6 separate regions of the Homo sapiens genome follow, and all the other regions are linked to region 5. The links are contacts of gene promoters, found by promoter capture Hi-C in blood cells and fetal thymus (Javierre and others, 2016). All regions are on one chromosome and are shown on one strand. The core of a region is centred on a gene start or on the middle of the fragment in contact, and the rest is flanking DNA. Distances in the headings are between cores, read along the strand shown. Region 1 overlaps ADAT1 (adenosine deaminase tRNA specific 1). Region 2 holds the start of TMEM231 (transmembrane protein 231). Region 3 holds the start of CFDP1 (craniofacial development protein 1). Region 4 overlaps KARS1 (lysyl-tRNA synthetase 1). Region 5 holds the start of TXNL4B (thioredoxin like 4B). Region 6 has its middle 5.1 kb from the start of TMEM170A.

Region 1 (2,709 bases), core at 34-2,533, 3.5 Mb after region 5:
GGGAGGATCACTTGAGCCCAGGAGTTCAAGGCTGCAGTGAGCTATGATAGTACCACCGTACTTCAGTGAGACCCTGTCTCTTAAAAAAAAAAAAACCACTGAAACAGACAAATAAAAACCCCCAGATCTCTAAGGAATTTTCATATTCTTGTTGAGGCCCAAAGCTTCCTGTCATTCAAGATTGCTTACCAGGTGCGGTGGCTCACACCTTTAATCCCAGCACTTTGGGAGGCCAATGTGGGCAGATCACCTGAGGTCAGGAGTTCAAGACTAGCTTGGCCAGCATGGTGAAACCCCGTCTCTAAAAAAATACAAAAATTAGCTGGGCGTGATGGTGGGTGCCTGCTGAGGCAGGAGAATCGCTTAAACCCAGGAAGGGGAGGTTGCAGAGCAGTGAATCGAGATTGCCCCATTGCACTCCAGCCTGGGTGACAGAGCGAGACTCCGAGTCAAAAAAAAAAAAAAAAAAAAAGATTGCTTTCTTGGGCTTCAGAAGCCACTCAAGCTGCATCCTCTACCTGCTATAGAGTCCCAAAGCCTTCCAGACCTAATGTGGAATAGCTAAACCCAGGGACTCTGTGGTTTGAGCATGAAAATACTGGTTAACTTTCAGTTATTCGGAAAGCATGTTCCTAGAGGCCTCCGCTTTGATGGTGGATTTCCATTCTCCAAGTGAGTACGGTCCTTCCAACTGGACTGATAGTCAGTAGGAAACAAATGCCATGCACCTCAACTGACATGGCCCCTCTTCCCTGACAAGGAGAGTAAAACATGGACACTGGTTTCAAGCTAAATCTTTGTTTAGATTCCCACCCGTGCTTACCGTTCTTCCTCATTTTGGACTGTCCTATGCATTTTGTTCCTGTTCCCATTGACACAACTTCCTTTGTCACTGTGGGAAAAAAACAAATCGTGTGAGTTCTGAGAAACGGAATGTTCCCCGGTGTTCAGGTGTGATCAGCCTGCACACTCCTCTAGGGGATTCCCAGAGGCCCACTCAACCAAGGTCTGCGGTTCCAGCATGGCGGTCTCCCGCCATCAGAGGTACTGCGTCACCTAGCAGAGGACAAGCACATATGCCTAACATCGTAGTTCACACCCTACCCACGACTGTACCCTCACAGTACAGCAATGCATAATTTTACCATCTCTCACAGTGAGGAGCATGCCAAGAAGAAAAAGTCTCACCTTGCACCGGCTTATCAGGGGTGTCGCAGGCCTTGTCAGCTGGAGATTGTATCTTCACCACCGCTGCCAATAATGTCCACTCATGGTTTGGCTCAGGCTTCCCCTTCTTGGGCAGCCTGATCCCATAGTGTTCATAGCATAGCTGAGCAATCTCATCCGCGGTCCACATGGTCTGAGCTGGTATTGAGACCTTGATCAAAAACCACAACCATCAGAAGTACGGAAAGGAGAACCAGTGCACGATGCTACAGCCTCTCATATCCATGCTTCGAGTCTTTCAAATGGAGCAGACCGAGGTTTCCCTATCTGGAACTCTATGGATCATTTTCTTCTACTATCTCCCTGCCCCCTTTTCATCTTTAATGAAAGATCAAAGAAACCCCAAATTCTACCAATCCCCAAAATTATTGTTTCAAGTTTTTCTTAATGTTATATATCTGATACATTTCTAAGGAGTCTGCATCCTCTACTCAACATTAAAGGACACGAGAAGGAAATGTCCTCACTACTCCAGTTTTCACTGGAAACGGCATGTAAAGGGTTGCAGACTCACTTGCTTTGGGCAGACCCTCACTGTATAAGGTTTATCTTTCTGGACAGATGTTCTTATCTGTCTTCTTTTTCCAGGCATTTTATTTTTCTCCTTTCCCCTACAGCAGAGTGTTTCTCTACCGCCCTCTAGTAAATCCCCACTGAAATGTTTCTCAGCAGTTACGTGTTCTCATAGAGCTCTACTTAAGGGTGTGGACTTTGGATTCACCCTTTCTGGGTTCTAATTTTGGCTTTGCCACAAATTAACTGTGATGCTGAATAGACTACTTAACCTTGCTGGGTCTGTTTCCTCATCTGTCAAAATAGTGATAACAATAGTATCTAACCTATTTAGATTATTGTGAAGATTAAATAATACTTAGGGTTACTGTGAGGGTTAAATAAGTAATACTTATAAAAAGCAATTGCTACTATGTTGAGCATAATTAAGGTCAACTGTGATTACTATTACAAAAAATAACATTTGATGATTTTCCTGGTTAATTTGCCTTGAGCTACCTGGTGGTGGGGGTGAAAGGGGGAGGGCTGTAATGGGCATAGAAAGCCATGAATTAAAAAACCATCAAGCAGATCCCTAGGATACTTTGCAGGGAAATCTCTCACTCTTGGCCCTATCAATGCTCACTAGGCACATCCTGATCTCATTTGGACTCAATTATACAAAAAGCTTCCCAGTAGAAGATGAGCTTGTGATAGACATAGCTAAGCACTGTAAAACCAAACTGAAGGCCGGGCGCGGTGGCTCACCTGAGGTCAGGAGTTCGAGGCCAGCCTGGCCAACGTGGTGAAACCCTGTCTCTACTGAAAATACAAAAAAATTAGCCGGGCGTGATGGCGCGTGCCTGTAGTCCCAGCTACTCGGGAGGCTGAGGCAGGAGAATCGCTTGAACCCGGGAGGCGGAGGTCGCAATGAGCCGAGATTGTGCCACTGCACTCCAGGCTGGGTGACAGAGCGAGACTCCCTCTCAA
Region 2 (2,700 bases), core at 63-2,562, 3.5 Mb after region 5:
TGGCTTCTCCTGGTTGCCATCGCCTCGGTCTCCACGGCAACCGACGGCTCACAGAAAGGAGCCAATAGCAAGGCCGCACCGAAAGGAGCCAGTGGCGGGGGCGGGGTTAGCGGGCGTGGCGCTGCCGGGGACGGTCGGCCTAGCTTTTCGAGCTGTGTACGTTTGCGTAAAGGCTGGGCGGCGATAGAACGTTTCCGTGGACCAGAGTCGTGGCTGTTGTCTGTGTTAACATTTGTGTAAAATAAGATGCCCATAAAAGTTGACTTGAACACTGAGGAGGAAGAACTAAATATTTAAATTTCAACTGACATGGACACAAACAATGGTCACCAAGTCCCTAAACAGGTTGTGGGAGCCCCTTGAGGCGTTCATCCAGCGCTGTTTCGGAGAAATCTCTATTTCAGTCTACTCCTATACGTCAGTTATTGAAAAACAACAATCGCAAAAACAAGTTGACCTTTTTGTGTTCCTTGAGCCCAGTCGCAAAGGGCCCTCGTGACTGGGCCTCATGCTAGACAACATGTTACAAAAAGATCTAGGGTCCCAGACCACGCCAAAAAGCTTCATGAGACCTCTCCTCGTCTGTGCACTGACGAGTGGCCGGCTCTGGAGCCCAGGTCGTTGCTTCCCAGTCTGGAGGTGAATCCTCCATAGTCTGGTGAGTGTAAATATATATATATATATGTCTTTTTCCTTCTCCTCTTCCCATTGCAATTTGCTTATTATATCAATCTGCTTATTATATTAATTTGCTTATTATAATATCTGCATTGCCATTTACGTGGGATAAAGCTTGCTTACCCTTAAAGGTACTGTGTGTGTGCCTTTTCTTCTCCCCTAGCGCGTCTCCCGCACAGAACGAACACCTGCTTTTGTGTCATCTGTTAACCCCCAGTGTGGTTCCTACTGAAGTCCAGTCAGTCACAAGCCTGGCCGTGGTCCTGGACCTGGTCCTGGGCTGAGATCAAAGCCAGGTGCTTTTGCCCCCAGATTTTCTGTTGCTTCCACTATGCTCCCATGCAAGACAGACACGGAAACACAAATCCCCTGGCTCTTCCACGGATAGAGTGGAATTACTACAAAGCTCTGATGCACTTCGTTAACCCTGTGTTGGGTACAGCTCAGCCGCGAGTTTTACAGGAATATATGGTCCTCCCCAAAGATCACTGGCTTATTGCTTAATTGAATGCCTACACCCCCCCGCCACCACCCCCAACCAATATTTCTAACATGGTAGAAGGACTTTTTAAAAAAATCTATGGTCCACAGCCAATTTCTTCATCAAATGGCCCTGAATGGCTGGGCACGGTGGCTCACGCCTGTAATCCCAACACTTTGGGAGGCCAAGGTGGGCGGATCACCTGAGGTCAGGGGTTCAAGACCAGCCTGGCCAACATGGTGAACCCTCATCTCTACTAAAAATACAAAAATTAGCCAGGCATGGTGATGGGCACCTGTAATCCCAGCTACTCTGGAGGCTGAGGCAGGAGAATCGCTTGAACCCGGGAGGCACAGATTACAGTGAGCGGAGATCACACATTGGACTCCAGCCTGGGTGGCAGCGAGACTCCATCTCAAACAACAACAACAACAACAAAAAGGTCCTGAGTGGCTGAGCACAGTGGCTCATGCCTGTAGGTCCAGCTACTCGGGAGGCCTGGGCAGGAGGAAGGCTTGAGCCCAGGAGGCTGCAGTGAGCCATGAATGCACTACTGCACTCCAGGCTGGGAGACAGAAGGAGACCTTGTCTCTAAAAAAATAAATACAAAATATTTAAATATAAGTAAATTTGTTAAAGGGTCAGTAAAATGACATTTAAGTGGAAAGACATGATAAGCTTTGTGATTTGGAAAAGTCACTCTAATGACAGCATGTCAGTAGTGTAAACCAAAATGTATCTGAGACAAGTCTCAATCAACGTAGAAATTTATTTTGCCAAGGTTAAGGACATGCCTGTGACACAGCCTCAGGAGGTCCTGATGACATACGCCCAAGGTGGATAGGGTATAACTTGAGTTTATACATTTAGGGAGACATAAGACATCAATCAATACGTGTAAGATGTACATTGGTTCAGTACTGAAAGATGAGACAAGTGGAGGTGGGGTGGGGCTTCCAGACCACAGAATTGGCAGATTCAGAGATTTTTCCAATTGTCAACTGGTTATTATCTAAAGACCTGGAATCAATAGAAAGGAATGTGTGGGTTTGTGGGCGGGGCACAGTGGCTCACGCCTGTAATCCCAACACTTTGGGAGGCCAAGGCAGGCAGATCACTTGAGGTCAGGAGTTCAAGACCAGCCTGGCCAACATGGTGAAACCCTGTCTCTACCAAAAATATGTATTAAAAAAAAAAACATTAGCTGCATCTGGCGGTGTCCACCTGTAATCCCAGCTACTTGGGAGGCTGAGGCAGGAGAATTGCTTTAACCCGGGAGGCAGCAGCTGCAGTGAGCCGAGATCATACCACTGCACTTCAGCCTGGGTGACAAAGTGAGACTCCATTTCAAAAAAAAAACAAAAACAAAAAACAATAAGGGGTTGTGGAGTCTAATGTTTTATCATGCAGATGAAGCCTCCAGGCTTCAGAGAGAACAGATTGTAAATGTTTCTTATCAGACTTTAAGAGTCTGTTCTATTAATATCAGTCTTAAGATCTATGTGTTGATGCTAATACTGGTCAGCTGGGTCTGAATTCCA
Region 3 (2,700 bases), core at 76-2,575, 3.3 Mb after region 5:
GGGATTACAAGCATGAGCCACCGCGCCAGGAATGGAATGGCTAGTTTTCAACGTGCCTTTTAGAAATACTTCACTAGCCGGGGCGCGGTGGCTCATGCCTGTAATCCCAGCACTTTGGGTGGCTGAGGTGGGAGGATCACTTGAGCCCACGAGTTCGAGACCAGCCTGGGCAACATAGCAAGATGCCATTTCTAAAAAAAAAAAAAAAAAAAAAAATTTAAAAAATTAGCGGGCGTGGCAGCCTGCACCTGCAGTCCCAGCTACTCCAGAGGCTGAGACGGGAGGATCGCTTGAGCCCAGGAGTCTGAGGTTGCAGTGAGCCAAGATCGCATCACTGCACTCCAGCCTAGACAACAGCAAGACCCTGTCTTTAAATAAAACAGAACAGAACAAAGTAAAACAAAGAGAATAGGGACGACTCCTGGGTTGTGTTTTGTTAGTCTGTTTGTTTCTTGTTTGTCTAGTCTTTCAACTGAAGATGTGAATGGGTGAAGATACTTTCAACGAGACGGTTTGTCTGGGGAAGACCAAGAAGGGGGAACAGAAAGATTTCTTCAGTAAGATTCATTCTCACCCCGTTCGGGTTGAGATCCCTAAGGAAAGAAAGTTCTGAGAGGAGAGGATGGGTGGACGTCACAATGAGGCAAAAAGCATCAAAGGGGGAACTTTCTATCAGAACTTTCTAACAACCAGGCGGAGAGCGGACAGCTCTATCTTGGACGGGGTGGTGGCCAGCAGCTCTCTCGGGCCAGGGCTGAAAAAAACCTCCAAGGCTCGGACTGCCGCCCCGACTTCTGAAGCAGCGGTGTCGTTCGGGGCTGACCGACGAGCGTCCCTAGCGACAAGGGGCCGTGTCCATGTGCCGGTTCCCGCGCTGCAAGAGGGGGCGGCGGCCGGAGCTGCCCAACGGGAGGGGAGCACAGAACCGCCACGCGCACACGCCTCGGGCCGGAGCGGCCGAGGATGAGGGGCCTGAGGGAGCGGACGCTCGAGAACAGGAGCCCCCCTGGACCACCTGGGCCACAGGGCAGACGCCCGCGGGGGCAGAGCGCGCCTCACGTGAGGCGTGGGGCGGGGCAATTCGCTTCTCGCCTCAGGCGGAATCGCTCACCCGACGGCACGTAGTCCTCGTCCTCCTCCGACGTAGAGAAGTCTTCGGAGTCGAATTCCTCCATGTTGCTGCCGCTCGACGCTGGTCAAACTCACAAGACCGCAGCAGCCGCCTCCAACGGCAAAGCTCTAGGGAGAGACCATAGAGCCCCGGCGGCGGCGACGGCAGCTAGGGCGGCCCCCGACAGCGCTTTGCACATGCGCAGAGAGTACTACGTGGTTGCCCTACGACACTTCCGGCCGATGCCTCCGGGCTGGCGTCCCTGAAGCCCTCGCTGGGAGCCCGAACCCGCCCGGACGCGGTGCATGCTGGAACTTGTAGTCTTCGGCGCTGCCTCGCCGCCTTAATATAATAAACCTGCTTAAATAAAATTACATATCTATGGAAATACAGGTGACCTTCATTAATCATTAATTCGTAATGCCAAATTCACTTACTTGCTAAAATGTATTTGTAACCCTAAAATCAATCATCACGGTACTGTCTGGGGTTCTTCCCGGGCATGCGCAGAGGGTGAAAATTTGGAGTTGGCGGAGGTAAGGTTCCCAGCTGAAGTTTGAACTGGGAGAAGCGCCGCCTTCTAGTCGCAGCTCCTGTGCTGTAAACAAAGAGTCCTTTCCGCAGTCTGTTTACTGACACTTTTTTTTCTGCTTTTTGTGGGTGGTTTTGCTTTCTAAAATGGCCCCCAAGCGTAGTGCTTAAGCTCTGCCCAGTGTTCCTAAGCGAAAGAAGACCGTGATGTGCCTTACGGAGAAAGTCCGCGTGTTGGATAAGCTCCAATCAGGCATGAGTTACAGTGCTGTTGGCCATGAGCTCAATGTTAACGAGTCGACAATCCGGTACATCAAGAAAAAGGAAAAGGAAATTCACCGATCTGTCCGTGAGGCCGCTCCGGATAGTGCTGAAGTGACCTCCATCGTGCGTGATGAAGCTATGACAAAGATGGAAAAGATGGAAAAGCGGCTAAATTTGTGGATTCATGAGATGTCAATCGATTAAAAAAAACATAGTGGACAGCATTGTGGTGAGGCTGAAAGCCAAAGATATCTGTGGTCACGTTACCCAGAGTCAAAGAAATGCTAAGCCCTTCTCGGCGAGTGCTGGCCGGCTCGCGCGTTTCAAAAGGCGATACGGGGTGAAAAATGTTAAACTTGCAGGTGAGGCGAGCTCTGCAGATCAGGAGGCTGCGGAAGAATTTTAAAAATACTTGCTAAGTGTTATACAGGAAAAGGGTTATGTGAAAGAGCAGGTTTTCAATGCGGATGAGACTGGCTTATTTTACAAGGATGTTGGCAAACGAACCTATATAATGCAAACGGCCTCCAAAGCCCCTGGCTTTAAATCATGCCAGGATCATGCACCCTTGTTATTGTGCGCCAATGCCAAGAGCGACTAAAGTGCAAACTCCTAATGGTGTAAAGAACCCAAAATCCACAAGCACTTAACGGGAAATACGTGAACCATCTGCCAGTCTATTGGAGGTGGAACAAAAAAGTGTGGATGATGTCTGATTGGTTCCACAACTGCTTCATCCCAGAAGCTGAACACTGTCTCCAGGGCAGAAACCTTGCCTTCAAGGGTTTTTTGTT
Region 4 (2,700 bases), core at 181-2,680, 3.6 Mb after region 5:
AGCTTACTGCAATCTCTGCCTCCCGGGTTTCAAGAGATTCTCGTGCCTCAGCCTCCTGAGTAGCTGGGATTACAGGTGTGTACCACCACAGTCAACTAATTTATGTATTTTTAGTGAGACGAGGTTTCACCACGTTGGCCAGACTGGTCTCAAACTCCTTTCCTCAAGTGATCTGCCCACCTTGGCCTCCCAAAGTGCTAGGATTACAGGTGTGAGCCACCTGACCCCTCCAATGCCAGATCTAATACATGATAAGGCAACATCTCCAGCCCTCTGCTACCCCCTCTCTCTATCCCTCCCCTAAGAGTGAGTTAGGATGATAGTAAGGAAGAGCCGGCTCTTTAGCACTCAAGGAGACCTCCCCTACCAACAGTCTCTCCAAGAATGGCTGTCAGCATTAGTCTCACTTTGCCCACTGGAGCCTGACTTAGACAACAAAATAGAACGGTGTGCAAAGCAGTATAGTACAGGGGGTAATATACCATCTTTGTAGTCAGGCTGCCTGGGACTAAATTCCAACACACTTGTCAATTATGTGACTTGGACGAGTGAATTAACTTCTCACCTGTGAAACGAAAATAATAATAGACAACCCCCACCAGTTGTTATGGTGTGTAATGAGATAATGTTTGTATAAAGGGATTACCCTGACCCTGGCATTCAGCTAACCAAATGTGAGCTTTCTAGGTATCTTTTAGTATCTTAACCCTTTACTCTCTGTGCCTCATATAGATTTAAATACATTTCTGGTTAAATCACTTGGTATCCAAACTCTTGATACTTATCACTTGAACCTGAAAAACCAAAGTAATGCGGACAACTCTGAGCTGTTCTGTATGATATGTTCATGTCTCTTATAGTCTGAATTTGCTATCTGAAACCAGAAACTAAACAGATTGGTGTAGGGAGGGATATCTTTACTATTCAAAGACAATTTATGGATCATTCTTTCAAACCGCTGAACATAATCAAATATTCTGCAATAGTGAACCACAGCAGAAGATCCCAAGTCATGCCCGCAAACATTCTGGCTTCAGGACACATCCTTCATTTTCGATATGAATTTAGAATAACTTTAAAAAATGAATTGAGGTTTTGAATCTTTCACCTTTTTTTTTTTTTTTTGAGACAGAGTCTCGCTGTGTTGCCCAGGCTGGAGTGCAGTGGTGCGATCTCAGATCACTGTAAGCTCTGCCTCCCGGGTTCACACCATTTTCCTGCCTCAGCCTCCGGAGTAGCTGGGACTACAGGTGCCCGCCACCATGCCCGGCTAATTTTTTTGGTATTTTTAGTGAAGATGGGGTTTCACCGTGTTAGCCAGGATGGTCTTGATCTCCTGACCTCGTGATCTGCCTGTCTTGGCCTCCCAAAGTGCTGGGATTACAGGCGTGAGCCACCACGCCTGGCCGAATCTTTCATCTTGTAAAAAAGAAAAACAGATTCTGAATGGTTTCAAAGTTGACAGCTTTTTCTACATATAATGTCTTATAACATTTGTAAAGACAACCTTTCCAAAACACTGTGCTGGTGTTATCATGCTATAATTCAGTCAGTGGACTGCTAAGATTAGGCTGTCTAGTTCTTCTAGAATTAAGATAAATCTGTTTTCCACTCAACCAGGTGCTCCTCTTAAATCAAATCAATCTTAAGGATAATCCAAAAAGGTCCTAGGGATAGCACTAAGACTAGAAACCAAATTAATCTCAAGAGCACACAAAACTCCAGAAAGACAGAAAAGGGAAATAGCTGGCATTAGAAATTATTTGTTCAAACAAAGGTTTTGTTCTTAGCACTCTTCTAGAATAAGATCCACATGTCATCTCAAGACTCTAAGGAGAGACGATTTGAATTTATTAAAGAGAAAATGAGAAAGGACTATTGGTTTTGGTATTAGGGCTCCTTGTTTCCTTAGCAACAAGTCCAAAGACTTAGCCAGAGGCTTAACGGAAAATGAACCAAGTAAGGAAATAATTTTTGCTTCCAGAGCAATAAAGAAGGTAATGGGCACCAACCTTCTTTGATCAGAAAATGACTTGTCCTTGTGAGGCGCTGTGAAAGGAGCAAGTTGACCCAGTCGCAGTTCCCTGTGACCCCACTCTGCCCAGGAGGTTTTGCGCAGGGACCCCCTAACAAGCCTTACAGCAGCTTGCGTCAACATGGCAGAGCACCCTGGAACTAATGATTACCACCACCTAGCGGGAAACACAGAGATGTGGTGTCAGATGGGACAGACAGTATACATATACCCAACCAACTCTCTTATGGGTTGGGGAGGGGGACCATGCTTCTACTACCTTTTAGTCCCATTTAACTTAAGACTGTCTTAACTGATAGCAACCCTGTAACACTCTCTGTGCTACAACTGTAACTGACAATGTTCTTAGTCCTGACTATGGAAAAAACATGCATATCTGGGGTAAAGCCAACAGCAAGTTAATGGATAGCTTACAGGTAAAATTGCTCACAACATCCTAGAATATGGGAACAGGATGTGAGGCACTTTCTGAAGCCCTGAAGTGTGGTTTCTCACCTGGAGAGGAAATACCTGGCCACAAGATGGCAATAGGAAGCATATAAAATAAGAGGAAACTGTCACTATCAATTGCAAACTCTAGACAAAGATAAATGCAAGCCACACAAAAATACGTGTCAAAGAGAAGACTTGTTTGGAACTCTAGGAACAAGGGGAAAGGAGAATTT
Region 5 (2,700 bases), core at 47-2,546:
AATTGCTTGAACCCTGGAGGCGGAGGTTGCAGTGAGCTAGGATCGCTCCACTGCACTCCAGCCTGGGCAAGGCAACAAGAGCGAAGCTCCGTCTCCAAAAAAAAAAAAAGGAATTATTTAACTAAAATTCACATAGGAAATAAGATTGTTCCAGCTATAGGTCATACTTTAAACAGGGACATTGATGGCCCAAAGGGACGTCATCAGATGTGAGCAGCAGAACAAATTACCAATGAAAGGGAAGGTCAAAGAGAAGACGGATCTGTCCCACTAGAATTCAAACAAACAGCAGTTCCTCCGTGTTACTGATCGAAAGGAGAAAGTAAGGGGAGAACAAAGTTGTTAGTGGTGAGGCTAGGGGTGCAACTGGACAAACGTTGGAAGCAGGAGAGGAAAACTGAGACCACATCTAAGAAAATGTCCATAGTAAATGATACCCACAGAGAATTCCCAAAAGAAGACGTACAAATGGACAGTAAATAAACTAAAAAGTTAAGCTTTACCAGTAAGCAAAGAAAAGCAAATTAAAACATATGTTTACAAAGTCACTGAATTGGCAAAAATTAAACAAGATAGTGGTAGGGGCAGGCACAGGGAGTTCCTGCTGGAATGCAGACACAAAACCTTTCTGGAAAGAAAACTGACATACTCTTTGACCAATAACTCCACTGCTTTCCTCTCTCCCTCTCTTTTTCTGAGGCGGGGTTTCGCTATGTTGCCCAGGCTGGTCTCAACTCCCCAGGCTCAAGCAATCCTCCCGCCTCAGCCTCCCGAGTAGCTGGAACCTCAGGCGCGCGCCACAACTGCAGAAACACCAAAAAAAGAAAAAAAGCTTGAACTCACTTTTGTACAGAATCTTACTACAATGTATTCCAGAAAAACAACTGGAAATCAGTGGTCATCTCTGCGTGTGAACGCATGGGTGATTTTTATTTACAGCCGGGCGCGCATCTCCATTTTCCAAAATATCCGATATACATATTTAAAGTCACCTGTGTTGCGCTGCTCCTGGCCCACAAGCGCTAAGGGACCCCAGCACTTACCTTACTCGTCCACGCCGCCTCACTCCCTTTCACTTTGTGGCTGTCAGCAACCACTTCTCGGAAGAGCCCGGGCGCGGACAGCTCCTTTCATCAGCCCCAAGCCGGACAGGACCCTAAGACCAAGTCACCCAGGGGCTGTTGCCTAGCAACCCTCGTGGCCCCGCTAGCGGGAAGGAAACCGAACAGAAAACGCACAAGCGCAGAAAAGAAACTCCTGGCCGTCGGTCGGCCCCCGCTCAACAGCCCAATAAACGGAAGAGCTTCTAGTCACCGCCCACCTTGCTCGGCTCTGACCGGAAGCTAGGCGTCACCTCCGCCCGTATTAAAGATGGTCGACCTTTTTCCCCTCCTTTTCCTGCCCCCAGACTAGAGGCGGGATGTAGTCTCTTAGGCTAAGAGTGATTGGTCACAAGGAGACTCGGAAGTGTCTGATCAGAGCCCCAGAGGAGGCCTTGAGAGCCTGTTGGCGTACCGTTCCACACTTGGATCCAGGAATCGGGCGTGTTCCAGGCTGCTCTCTATGGTAGCTTTGGGCGGATAGAGGGGGCGCGCAAAGTATTAAGGGACAATAATGGCCGCTTTCAAGGTGTGGATTTTGGCTCCTTGAGCCTGTCTGAGCGAGGGGTGGCAGCGCCGGCGCCCCAGAATCCGGGACAGAAGGGTCCCAAGAGTCGCGCTTGGTGAGGTGAGAGTCCCTTCTTCCTTCCTGGCCTGCCCTTCTGTAATCATGGCGGCTCTAGGCGGCGGATATTGGTCCCCTGCTCAGGTCCGGGCCCCAGTTTGGGGAGTTCCTCTGTCGTCCCTGTCACCCACCTTGCCTTACTCACCTCAGGGATGCTGCATCCGTCCTGGCCGCCTTGGCCTTCCTCCTTGCTCTGGTCAAATCCTGCTGCCTGGAGCGGCCTCGCTGAGATCCAGGGATGCTGCCTGGAGTGGCCTTGGTCCCTCTCCCAGGCCTCCGCTTTAACCCACCCCAGACTGTCACCGAGCCCGAGTAGGACTCCTTGTGTCTTCCTCTGCTCTCTCACAGTGTCATTTATACCAGGCAATCTGGTGGGCGATCTCTTCTACTAGAATGTCAGCTCCAGGTGGGCGGGGATTTTTGTCTTGTTCTCTGTTGCTATCGCCGAGAACAGCAATTGGCTCAGGGACACCCTCAGTGAATAATTGTTGAATGAATGAATCCAGGTTCTTTCTTCCCTGGCTTTCTCGTACGCCTTGTAGTTTCTTTGCCATTAATCCTTCTCAAGAATCTTGCTCTTTAGCTCCTTATTTGTTCGTCTCAGCAGCTAATGAAGTTCTCTCTGGCTGTCTCCTTGTCCTGTGTTGCTGGAATCTTCCCTTGCTGTCTCCAGAAATGTTTGGGTTCCTGTCCTCCTTTAATAAGTTTAAATTAATTCATTTTTTAATTTATCAAACGCTTATTTTGCTAGACATTGAGCTACAGCAGTCAACAACACATCCAGTGTTCTCTCAACTGCGTAGAATGGCAGTCCAGGGTACCTTTCCTAGTTTAGACAACTATTGAGTAGAGCCTGTATATCTTTACCTTCTTGTGTGGATTTCCTCACATGCGCACAGATGTCACCAATATGCAGCTTTCTTTTTTTCTGTTCTGCCTGATGGCATTTTCAAAATGTAACTCTTGTTTCTGCAT
Region 6 (2,700 bases), core at 45-2,544, 3.4 Mb after region 5:
CACTTTGGGAGGCTGAAGCAGGCAAATTGTCTGAGCTCAGGAGTTCCAGACCAACCTGAGCAACATGGTGAAACCCCATCTCTACTAAAATAGAAAAAATTAACTGGGAATGGTGGTGTGTGACTGTAGTCCCAGTTACTCAGGAGGCTGAGGTAAGAGCATTGCTTGAACCCGGGAGCCACTGCACTCCAGCGTGGGCAACAAAGCCAGACTCCATCTCAAAAAGAAAAAAGGCCGGGCGTGGTGGCTCACACCTGTAATCCCAGCACTTTGGGAGGCAGAGACGGGCGGATCACGAGGTCAGGAGATCGAGACCATCCCTGGCTAACACGGTGAAACCCCGTCTCTACTGAAAATACAAAAAAATTAGCCGGGCGTGGTGGCAGGTGCCTGTAGTCTCAACTACTCGGGAGGCTGAGGCAGGAGAATGGTGTGAACCCAGGAGGTGGAGCTTGCAGTGAGCTGAGATTGCGCCACTGCACTCAATCCTGGGCGACAGAGCGAGACTCCGTCTCAAAAAAAAAAAAAAAAAAAAAAAGAAACAGAAGTCTCTCTTGAAACCTCCGTTTAGGAAGCTTCCTCCTGCCAGTTCCCTACCACTACAATTGGCGTTTTGCATCAACCAAGAAACCTATCTAAAATAAAAATAGGAAGTATAAAAAGGGTCAGGAAATACTGACCTTTTAACCATGCTGTCTTTTTGGTACATTTCCCAGACTAGCAGAGTCTATTAGAAGTGGAAGAAACCGCTGGGCGTGGTGGCTCATGCCTGTAATCCCAGCACTTTGGGAGGCTGCGGCGGGTGGATCACGAGGTCAGGAGTTTGAGACCAACCTGACCAACATGGTGAAACCCCGTCTTTACTAAAAATACAAAAATTAGCCGGGCATGGTGGCATGTGCCTGTAATCCCAGCTACTCAGGAGGCTGAGGCAGGAGAATTGCTTGAACCTGGGAGGTGGAGGTTGCGGTGAGCCGAGATCGCACCATTGCACTCCAACCTGGGCGACAGAGCAAGACTCTGTCTCAAAAAAAAAAAAAAAAAAAGAAAAAGGGCCAGGTGTGGTAGGTCACACCTGTAATCCCAGCACTTTGGGAGGCCGAGGCAGGCAGATCACGAGGTCAGGAGTTCCAGAACAGCCTGACCAACATGGTGAAACCCCATCTCTACTAAAAATACAAAAATTAGCCGGGCCTGGTGGCATGCGCCTGTAATCCCAGCTACTTGGGAGGCTGAGACAGGAGAATTACTTGAACCCGGGAGGCAGAGGTTGCAGGAGCCGAGATCGTGCCATTGCACTCCAGTCTGGGCAACAAAATGAGACTCTGTCTCAAAAAAAAAAAAAAAAAAAAAAAATCAGCTGGGCGTGGTGGTGGGCGCCTGTAATCCCAGCTACCGGAGAGGCTGAGGCAGGAGAATGGCGTGAACCCGGGAGGTGGAGCTTGCAGTGAGCAGAGATCGCGCCACTGCACTCCAGCCTGGGCAACAGAGCGAGACTCCGTCTCAAAAAAAAAAAAAAAAAAAAGTGGAAGAAATCAATTATTGTAGGGTTACATAATCAATTATGTATTACATTAGGAAACATTATTTTGAATTTAGAATTCGATCTTTAGTTCATTTATGAATTGACAGGTTAAAAAAAGACATTTAGCCTTGCAGGACTCAGAAAATGGAGGTTTCCTGGGCCCTGTCTAAGGAAGCCAAGGAGGCGGTCCAGCACACCAGACCCCCTGGCCCCTTGCTGCTCTTTCAACAAGCCAGATGCCTCCCCTCCTTAGGGCTTTTGTGTTAGCTCTTTCCTGCTCCCAGACAGGCTACCCATGATTGCCCTTAACATACTCCCTCACCTCCTGTAAGACTTTCCTCAAATGTCGCTTTCTCACTGAGACCTACCCTGATCACCCCATTAAAAATTACAACTCACACCTCTACACACATATATTCCTCATCCCCCGATCCTTCTCTACTTTAATCCTTGGCACTTTCTAATATGCTAAATAATGTAGCCATTTATTAAGCTTATTCATCAGCTATCTCCCCACCATCAGAATGCAAGTTCCTGAAGGGCAGGGTTGTTGTTGTTGTTGTTTGAGAGAGTCACACTCTATCGCCCAGGCTGGAGTGCAGTGGCGCGATCTCAGCTCACTGCAACCTCCGCCTCCCAGGTTTAAGCGATTCTCCTGCCTCAGCCTCCTGATTAGCTGGGATTACAAGCGTGCACCACCACCACCACGCCTGGCTAATTTTTGTATTTTTAGTAGAGATGGGGTTTCACCATGTTGGCCAGGCTGGTCTCGAACTCCTGACCTCATGATCTGCCTGCCTCGGCCTCCCAAAGTGCTGGGATTACAGGCGTGAGCCACTGCGCCTGGCTGGTTTTTGTTTTGTTTTGTTTTGTTTTGTTTGTTTTTGAGATGGAGTCTCGCTCTGTCGCCCAGGTTGGAGTCCTTTGGCGCCATCTCGGCTCAATTCAACCTCCGCCTCCCGGGTTCAAGCAATTCTCCTGCCTCAGCCTCCTGAGTAGCTGGGACTACAGGTGCATGCCACGATGCCCAGCTAATTTTTATATTTTTAGTAGAGACTGGGTTTCACCATATGGGTCAGGCTGGTCTTGAACTCCTGACCTCAGGTGATCCACCTGCCTCGGCCTCACTAAGGGCTGAGATTAGAGGTGTGAACCACTGCACCCAGCCTAGGGCA

The links. The method cuts DNA at HindIII sites, captures the fragments that hold promoters and counts their contacts. A CHiCAGO score of 5 or more calls a contact.
Region 1: a fragment that was not itself captured here is called in contact with the fragment with the promoter of TXNL4B in region 5 in 1 of 17 cell types (non-activated CD4 T cells); the score reaches 6.6 in non-activated CD4 T cells.
Region 2: a contact is called between a fragment that was not itself captured here and the fragment with the promoter of TXNL4B in region 5, in 3 of 17 cell types (non-activated CD4 T cells, activated CD4 T cells and naive CD8 T cells). The highest score is 7.2, in non-activated CD4 T cells.
Region 3: a contact is called between the fragment with the promoter of CFDP1 here and the fragment with the promoter of TXNL4B in region 5, in 1 of 17 cell types (non-activated CD4 T cells). The highest score is 10.1, in non-activated CD4 T cells.
Region 4: a fragment that was not itself captured here is called in contact with the fragment with the promoter of TXNL4B in region 5 in 1 of 17 cell types (activated CD4 T cells); the score reaches 5.8 in activated CD4 T cells.
Region 6: a contact is called between a fragment that was not itself captured here and the fragment with the promoter of TXNL4B in region 5, in 2 of 17 cell types (activated CD4 T cells and total CD4 T cells). The highest score is 6.4, in activated CD4 T cells.

The regions. Positions count from the first base shown.
Region 1 is chr16:75,619,443-75,622,151 of GRCh38, forward strand. ADAT1 (adenosine deaminase tRNA specific 1) reads right to left here. Exons shown (of 10, transcript NM_001324445.2): 2 at 1,189-1,378; 3 at 824-892. The coding sequence starts at 1,357. Among named protein-coding and RNA genes, the nearest start is that of ADAT1, 2.5 kb to the right of the region's middle. RefSeq lists a silencer at 1,709-2,003 and enhancers at 2,072-2,592, 2,593-2,709. The HindIII fragment of the contact is 2,243 bases long and covers 163-2,405 here.
Region 2 is chr16:75,556,252-75,558,951 of GRCh38, forward strand. It overlaps TMEM231 (transmembrane protein 231), which reads right to left and starts at 1. Exons shown (of 7, transcript NM_001077418.3): 1 at 1. RefSeq lists a silencer at 62-171 and enhancers at 212-291, 322-431. The HindIII fragment of the contact is 1,045 bases long and covers 791-1,835 here.
Region 3 is chr16:75,432,178-75,434,877 of GRCh38, forward strand. CFDP1 (craniofacial development protein 1) reads right to left here and starts at 1,326. Exons shown (of 7, transcript NM_006324.3): 1 at 1,112-1,326. The coding sequence starts at 1,175. RefSeq lists a silencer at 762-1,001 and enhancers at 1,312-1,821, 1,365-1,932. The HindIII fragment of the contact is 10,360 bases long and covers 1-2,700 here.
Region 4 is chr16:75,642,271-75,644,970 of GRCh38, forward strand. The region is part of intron 1 of KARS1 (lysyl-tRNA synthetase 1); the gene reads right to left. Among named protein-coding and RNA genes, the nearest start is that of KARS1, 4.0 kb to the right of the region's middle. The HindIII fragment of the contact is 3,555 bases long and covers 1-2,700 here.
Region 5 is chr16:72,092,324-72,095,023 of GRCh38, forward strand. TXNL4B (thioredoxin like 4B) reads right to left here and starts at 1,297. Exons shown (of 4, transcript NM_017853.3): 1 at 1,044-1,297. DHX38 (DEAH-box helicase 38) reads left to right here and starts at 1,524. Exons shown (of 27, transcript NM_014003.4): 1 at 1,524-1,728. RefSeq lists enhancers at 1,070-1,399, 1,410-1,459, 1,520-1,819. The HindIII fragment of the contact is 4,501 bases long and covers 831-2,700 here.
Region 6 is chr16:75,468,391-75,471,090 of GRCh38, forward strand. No RefSeq gene overlaps it. Among named protein-coding and RNA genes, the nearest start is that of TMEM170A, 5.1 kb to the left of the region's middle. The HindIII fragment of the contact is 1,443 bases long and covers 574-2,016 here.